Linked DNA regions of Homo sapiens: region 2 is linked to region 1. The links are contacts of gene promoters, found by promoter capture Hi-C in blood cells and fetal thymus (Javierre and others, 2016). All regions are on one chromosome and are shown on one strand. The core of a region is centred on a gene start or on the middle of the fragment in contact, and the rest is flanking DNA. Distances in the headings are between cores, read along the strand shown.

Region 1 (2,711 bases), core at 205-2,704:
CCTGGCCCATTGTAATTAATACATGCCAGTTTATTTTCCTTTTCTTCCTCCACAAGTATGGGCTACTAGGGAGGACGAAGGGTTGGTGCCGTGGTGTTTATGTGCCTGGACAGAAAGTGAAGCGTATCCAAGAGGCTGCTGAGAGCGGGCTGTCGGTCTTTCTGATCCGTATAGATCAATTCCAGTGCCCTGAAAAACGCACAGCTATTTTACCCAGAGAGGCTGGTCGCTTTTGTTGATCGATTCTCGGCTGCAGTCAGCTCTTTAATACAACTTTTTATGAGCATCAGCCACATTGCGGCGGGAGGAGGGGCTGTGGTGGAAAAAGCAGGGAAACCGCCCCCCACTCCCAAAAAGTAAAGGAAGCCCGCGGGGCAGGGACTGCGGTTTGCCGGTCTAACGGGTCCTCGAGCTGGGGCGGCGGTCCCGGCCCCTTCGGCCCCGCCCCTCGCCCGCGGCCGCCTCCGAGGTTCAAGTTCGGCCCCCGGCTGTTAGGCCTCGCGCTCCCGGATCTGAAGCCGCCCGTGCGTCCCTAGGTCCCCCGCTGGAAGACGAGGCGGGAATCCCAGGGGTCATCCGGGCGCGGGGTCGCTCGTCCACGCACTGTGGTGCCACGTGGAGGAAAAGTTTCCAACTCTGCCAGTTGGTGCTCCCACTGCGCCCAGGCGGAGCAAAGGCCCGCGCTTTGGCACCCGCTCCCCGTTCTGTCTCCTCCAGTCGCGCCCCCTCCCAGGGACGCCCCCCTTGTACCCCTTCTCTGAATTCCCTTCTCTCCTCGCAGCGCAGGTAGCCAAGGGAAAACACCCTTGGGGGCTGGTGGGGCTTCCCGAGAAGGCGGCCTCGGGCCGGCCAGGGGTAGAGGATCCAGGGACAAGTGTCCCGAGGAGGATGTGGGGGGCGCGCGCGCGAAGTGGCCTGGGAGCAGGGGCCCACACGCGTCCCCGCTGCGACAGGCGGGATCCTCCGGCGGCTTCCACGCCCTGGCGCGCCAACTCTGCCCGGCCGCGGCCGACCCCACGCGGGCGCCCCCTCCACGCCCCCGCCCCCGCCCCCCTCACAGCTCCCCACCGCCCCCAGTGCGCAGGCCCGGCCGCCCCAGCGCGCATGCCCTGGGCTCGCGAGCGCGGCCAGCCCCCAGCCTTTTGCTTTCTACACACTCTACAACTGGGGAGGGGGCGGGGGAGGAGGGAGCCCAGCCGTCCACGTGATCCCGCCGGCCGGGGCCGCGGGGGCGGGAGCGCGCGCCGAGAGAGGCGCGGGGAGGGCGGGTGCGCGGGAGCGCGCGCACTCGAGCGAGCGAGCGAAAGCACGAACGAGCGAGCGAGCGAGCGAGCGAGCGGGCGGGCGCGGGGTTGGGCTGAGGCGGGCGGCGGCGGCGGCGGCGGCGGTGGGCTGGCCGCGGAGGGGGAGGAGCGGGAGCTGCGCGAGGCAGGCGGGCGGGCGGAGGATGGGGCAGTGCCCGGGCTCCCGCTGCAGCCGCCCGGGGACACGCCGTGCACCCTCCGGCTCGGGGCTTTCTCGGCGGCGGCGGCGGCAGCAGCAGCAGCGTTAGCGGCGGCGGCGAGAGCAGCGTTCCCGGCTGCGCTTCTCCCTCAGGCGGGGCGGCGAGAGAAGCGGCGGCGGCGGCGGCGGCACACCGGTGTCTCTCCCGCTGGAGATTTCTTTCTGCTTTCCTCATCGACTGACTGACTCACCCCCTCCCTTTTTTGAGGAAGGGTGACCTCTTCTCTGGGACTGGAAAAAATATTTTTGTGAGGAGGGGGGCGGGTGGCAGCGACAGGGTTTGCTTCTTCTCTTCTTTCATCTCCCTCTCCTCCCCCCTCGAAGACCGAAAAGCAAACCCCACAACTGCTCCAGCAGCATCCTCCTTCCCTTCCTCCGCCTCCCTTCTCCTCCGCCGCTCGCAGTTTCGCCCTCTCTTCCGCTAATGATTGCATTATTATGCTCCCCTCTCTGGGGGGTCTCGCCCCTCTTGGGTCGCTCCGGAGCCCCGGCCTCCCCTGGCTGCATTTCTTAAAAATTTGGGAGCCTGGGAGTGAGTTTTCTCCGAGGCGTGTGTGAGAGGCGGCGGGGGTGTTTTCCTGCGCGAGGGGCGGGTGAAGTTCATTGCCCCCACTTTTCCCGCGACCTTTTTCGGACCCGATTTTGGATCGAGTTGAGGGGGGCGCGGGCGTTTTCGGGGGGCGGGGGGCGCGGCGGAGAATGGCCGCGGGGAGGGCTCCCCGGAGCCTCCCAGTCTCTTGATCAAAGCATTCCGCTATTCTGATTTATTGCTTGCTTGGTGAGTTATTTTTTTTTCCTCTAAAGGAGACCTGTGTGTTCAGCCATTACTTTGCTCGGCGCTGCTCCCAGGCATCTCCGACCCTCGGTGCTGTGGGGAGCCCCACACTTGGGCTCCTCGCCTCTCGCCCTCGCTCCCCGTCCCTCCTCCCCTCTCTCCGCCCCTTCCCCCTTTTCTTTCTCCTCTCTTTCTTCCCCTCTCTCCCTTCTTTCGGCCGCCGTCTCCCCCGCGCCCTCCTCGGGGCGGAGGGAAGCCGTGAAGGGGGAGGGAGGGCTCGGTGTCAATTTTTTTTTGTGTGGCTGCGGCCGTAGCCTGTGGCGGGCAAGCGGGGAGACCCCGGCGCAGCAGAACCATGGATGGCCCGACGCGGGGCCATGGACTCCGCAAAAAGCGGCGGTCGCGGTCGCAGCGAGACCGGGAGAGGCGCTCC
Region 2 (2,980 bases), core at 384-2,883, 1.1 Mb after region 1:
TCCCCCAGATGTACACAGGAATATTTCATCTTTGTCAGTATTACATGGAAAGACTAAATTGAATATCCTCTTTGTCCCTAAAAGCTAGCCCCAGAGTCAAAATATGCTGCACTTCAGAATTCCCCCCCCCCATTTCCTATATTTCCTTTTTCCATATTTATTCAACATTCTAGGCTTTTGCTTTCTCAGAATATGCATCTCTGTGTATCAAGTGTGAAAGATGAGTGATTTCTCATGAGGGTTATGTAGTGAAAACAGCACAAATATAGCTTGGCCATTATAACTTTAAATGCAGATATATCCTCACGTTATGTAGTGGAGATGCTTAATTTTTATTTTTTCAAGTTCTAGAAATATTCAGTGCTGAAACATTACAGCATTTTCCTTCAAACCGACTTCCATGTTTATTTTCCAGAACATTAGTGTATAATTTAAATTGGCTTTAGTTTTACTGTTTAAACAGGCTTATTTCACCTTCCTCAAGCCACTGTAATAATTAGCAGACATGTTCTCTAGAAAATGGAAAGGAAATAATGCTGGTGGCATGCATAGTGGTCGGATTTTGGGGCAGGCCGGCTTGCATCTTTTTGAACACCAAGGTCGTTTGGTTACTGCAAGGGACAGGGATCTTGGAGTCATCAGATGAATCTTAAAAAAAAATTAATTTCTGGCAGTGTTGGCTTACACTTTTTAGTGAGGAAAAGCTTAGCATTAAATAATAGGCATTTCTGATTTGTGAAAGAAAATTGAAAAATTGGCATGTCTGCAAATACCACGAAAAACATAACATTTCCAAAATAATGATCTGTCAACGAAATTGCAAAATCATTATGTGAATGAGCTGAATTGCTTTGTGTATCATCTCATAGAAATATGTTTTGCACAGATAATGTGTCTAATAAGGACACATTTTTAAAATCAGATTTTTTTCCCCCCAGCAAATAGCTGCACTGCAGGTCTCTCTCAAGCAGTCAACTAGCACCACCTTATGGATGATTTGGGGACATTGCTGCTTCCCTGCTAGGCTTTCGTAAAATGTAGTCAACTGATTTAAAATAATGGGAATGTTGATGGTGATGACAATATTAATGACAATAATAATGCTTTTTTCCCCCTTCTTGTTTTTCAGGCATCAGATGCCAGCTCTGAAAAACTCTTCAACACTGTTATTGTAAACAAAGGTAAGACCCATTCATTCTCCTGAGTAATGGCTTATTTTTATGTTAGTTTCATTGTCATTGCCTAGGAAGAAAGAAGAGCTAGAGTGATCTTTCTCTTATAATTCTGAAGCTACTGTTGATGTTTCATGTTTTTGCTTGAGATGGAAGTCTGCATACTTTGTGATGCATTAACATTAACAACCAGTTTATTTTAAAAGAATACATTGAGTCCCTATTTAAACTGATTTGACTAATCACTACTACTATGTGACTTTAATATAGAAAGCTGTACTCGAGAAGAATAGTTCTCAAAATGCCTGAACTTTATTGTTACTTATCAACTACCCAGCAATAGGAGAAATATAAATAGCTGATGTGCATTGCAGACTCCAGTAATCAATGGATGTTTAGAATTCACAGTATTATGGTCATAAACCAAGCCTTACTCTGCTGTGGGCTTTCTGTAAAGTTAATAAACGAGCGAGAGGGCAGAATTTAAATATGCACTATCCCATTAATTTCTTCCAAACCACGATCTAGAGTAAGAGAGGCTAATGATATAGCAGTACATTAAGGGAAAACTAACCTTAAATCATTGCCAGTAGGTTTCTGCGCAGCTTTCATTTGTTAGCAGTATCGTTGGAAATAAGGAAATTTAGGGGAGTCTGTAATCACTGGCTCTGAAAGGTGTGTAATTTGAAAGGGACAAACCATATAAACTATTTAATCTTCCCCTTTCCACTGTCGAGCCTGATTTAGGGGCTGGCATGATAATTGCTAAGTAAAGATGTGCTTTCTGTGATAATCTCTTTCTGGGTTACATGGGCGACACTTGGTAGCACTTGAACAGACTTGGGCCTTCACAAAGTGAAATTTGAGACCATTTCAGCCTTCTGTAGTTGCCTTGGCTAGCATTTTTGCTAGCTGGTTAGTAAGACATTTCCAAGTGCAGTTATTTTGAGCTCCCAGATTATTTTAGAATTTGAACCAATTGCAATTTTAAATAGTACATTATGTTTAGAGTTCCCTTGAGGTGTATGTGATTGCCGTTACTCCCAGAATTACTGTCATATTGAATTTTATCTTTTTTTATTGCATAATGGAGTATTCCAGTTTTATATTTCATCATATTTTCTGATGGACTGAAAGTTTGTATAAATGTGTTATCCATAATGCTAAAAGCCCAATAAAAGAAGATGTGTGCCATTCATAGCATACAGTACTCGTGTGTAAAAATGCACAATTGTCTACCACTTGGCGTTTCCTTGTGAGAAAGGAGGGTGATGGGAGAGGGAGACTGGGGTAGAGGGCAGGTCACCAAAGGCAGGGCTTCTTCGTTTCTGCAGCCCCCCAGGACCTCTGCCACATGTGACTGTGTCTGTCTTCTGCTGATTTGCTACTGAAAGCTTTGGAATGTATTTCCCCTTTCTGGGATCAGGCCCTAGAATAAGAGTTGGCTCCAAGACCTGCACTCTGGCCGCCACTGCCCTGAAAGATTGTCTTCAGGGCGGATGAACAGCTCGCCTCTGCCTCTTCCCTCTGGTTCTTTCCCCCCCTTTTTTTCCTTTTCCAATCAAACGTTTCCCACATTCTTATTTTTGTTTACTTACAGAGTGTGATTTGTGGCATCTATTTGGTTGTGAATAGCCCTCCCCCTGACAGGGTGCCTTTCTTCTGAGCTGCTTTTCTAGGGGTGATTTAGTTGCCTTGAAAGGATTAAGGTTTCTTTGTGTACACTAAAATCAACATAGGCTTTTTCTAAGCTTTGCTTGGGAAACCATACACAAATAAGCATTTTAGTTGATGGCAGATTATTCCTT

What was found. The method cuts DNA at HindIII sites, captures the fragments that hold promoters and counts their contacts. A CHiCAGO score of 5 or more calls a contact.
Region 2: a fragment that was not itself captured here is called in contact with the fragment with the promoter of AUTS2 in region 1 in 1 of 17 cell types (fetal thymus); the score reaches 6.3 in fetal thymus.

What each region holds. Positions count from the first base shown.
Region 1 is chr7:69,597,021-69,599,731 of GRCh38, forward strand. It overlaps AUTS2 (activator of transcription and developmental regulator AUTS2), which reads left to right and starts at 1,455. Exons shown (of 19, transcript NM_015570.4): 1 at 1,455-2,711. The coding sequence starts at 2,634. It overlaps CT66 (cancer/testis associated transcript 66), which reads right to left and starts at 604. Exons shown (of 3, transcript NR_148927.1): 1 at 27-604. RefSeq lists enhancers at 625-704, 1,885-1,934 and silencers at 1,015-1,434, 1,455-1,534, 2,699-2,711. The HindIII fragment of the contact is 6,527 bases long and covers 1-2,711 here.
Region 2 is chr7:70,697,440-70,700,419 of GRCh38, forward strand. AUTS2 (activator of transcription and developmental regulator AUTS2) reads left to right here. Exons shown (of 19, transcript NM_015570.4): 6 at 1,130-1,181. Among named protein-coding and RNA genes, the nearest start is that of GALNT17, 430 kb to the right of the region's middle. RefSeq lists an enhancer at 2,522-2,980. The HindIII fragment of the contact is 1,862 bases long and covers 703-2,564 here.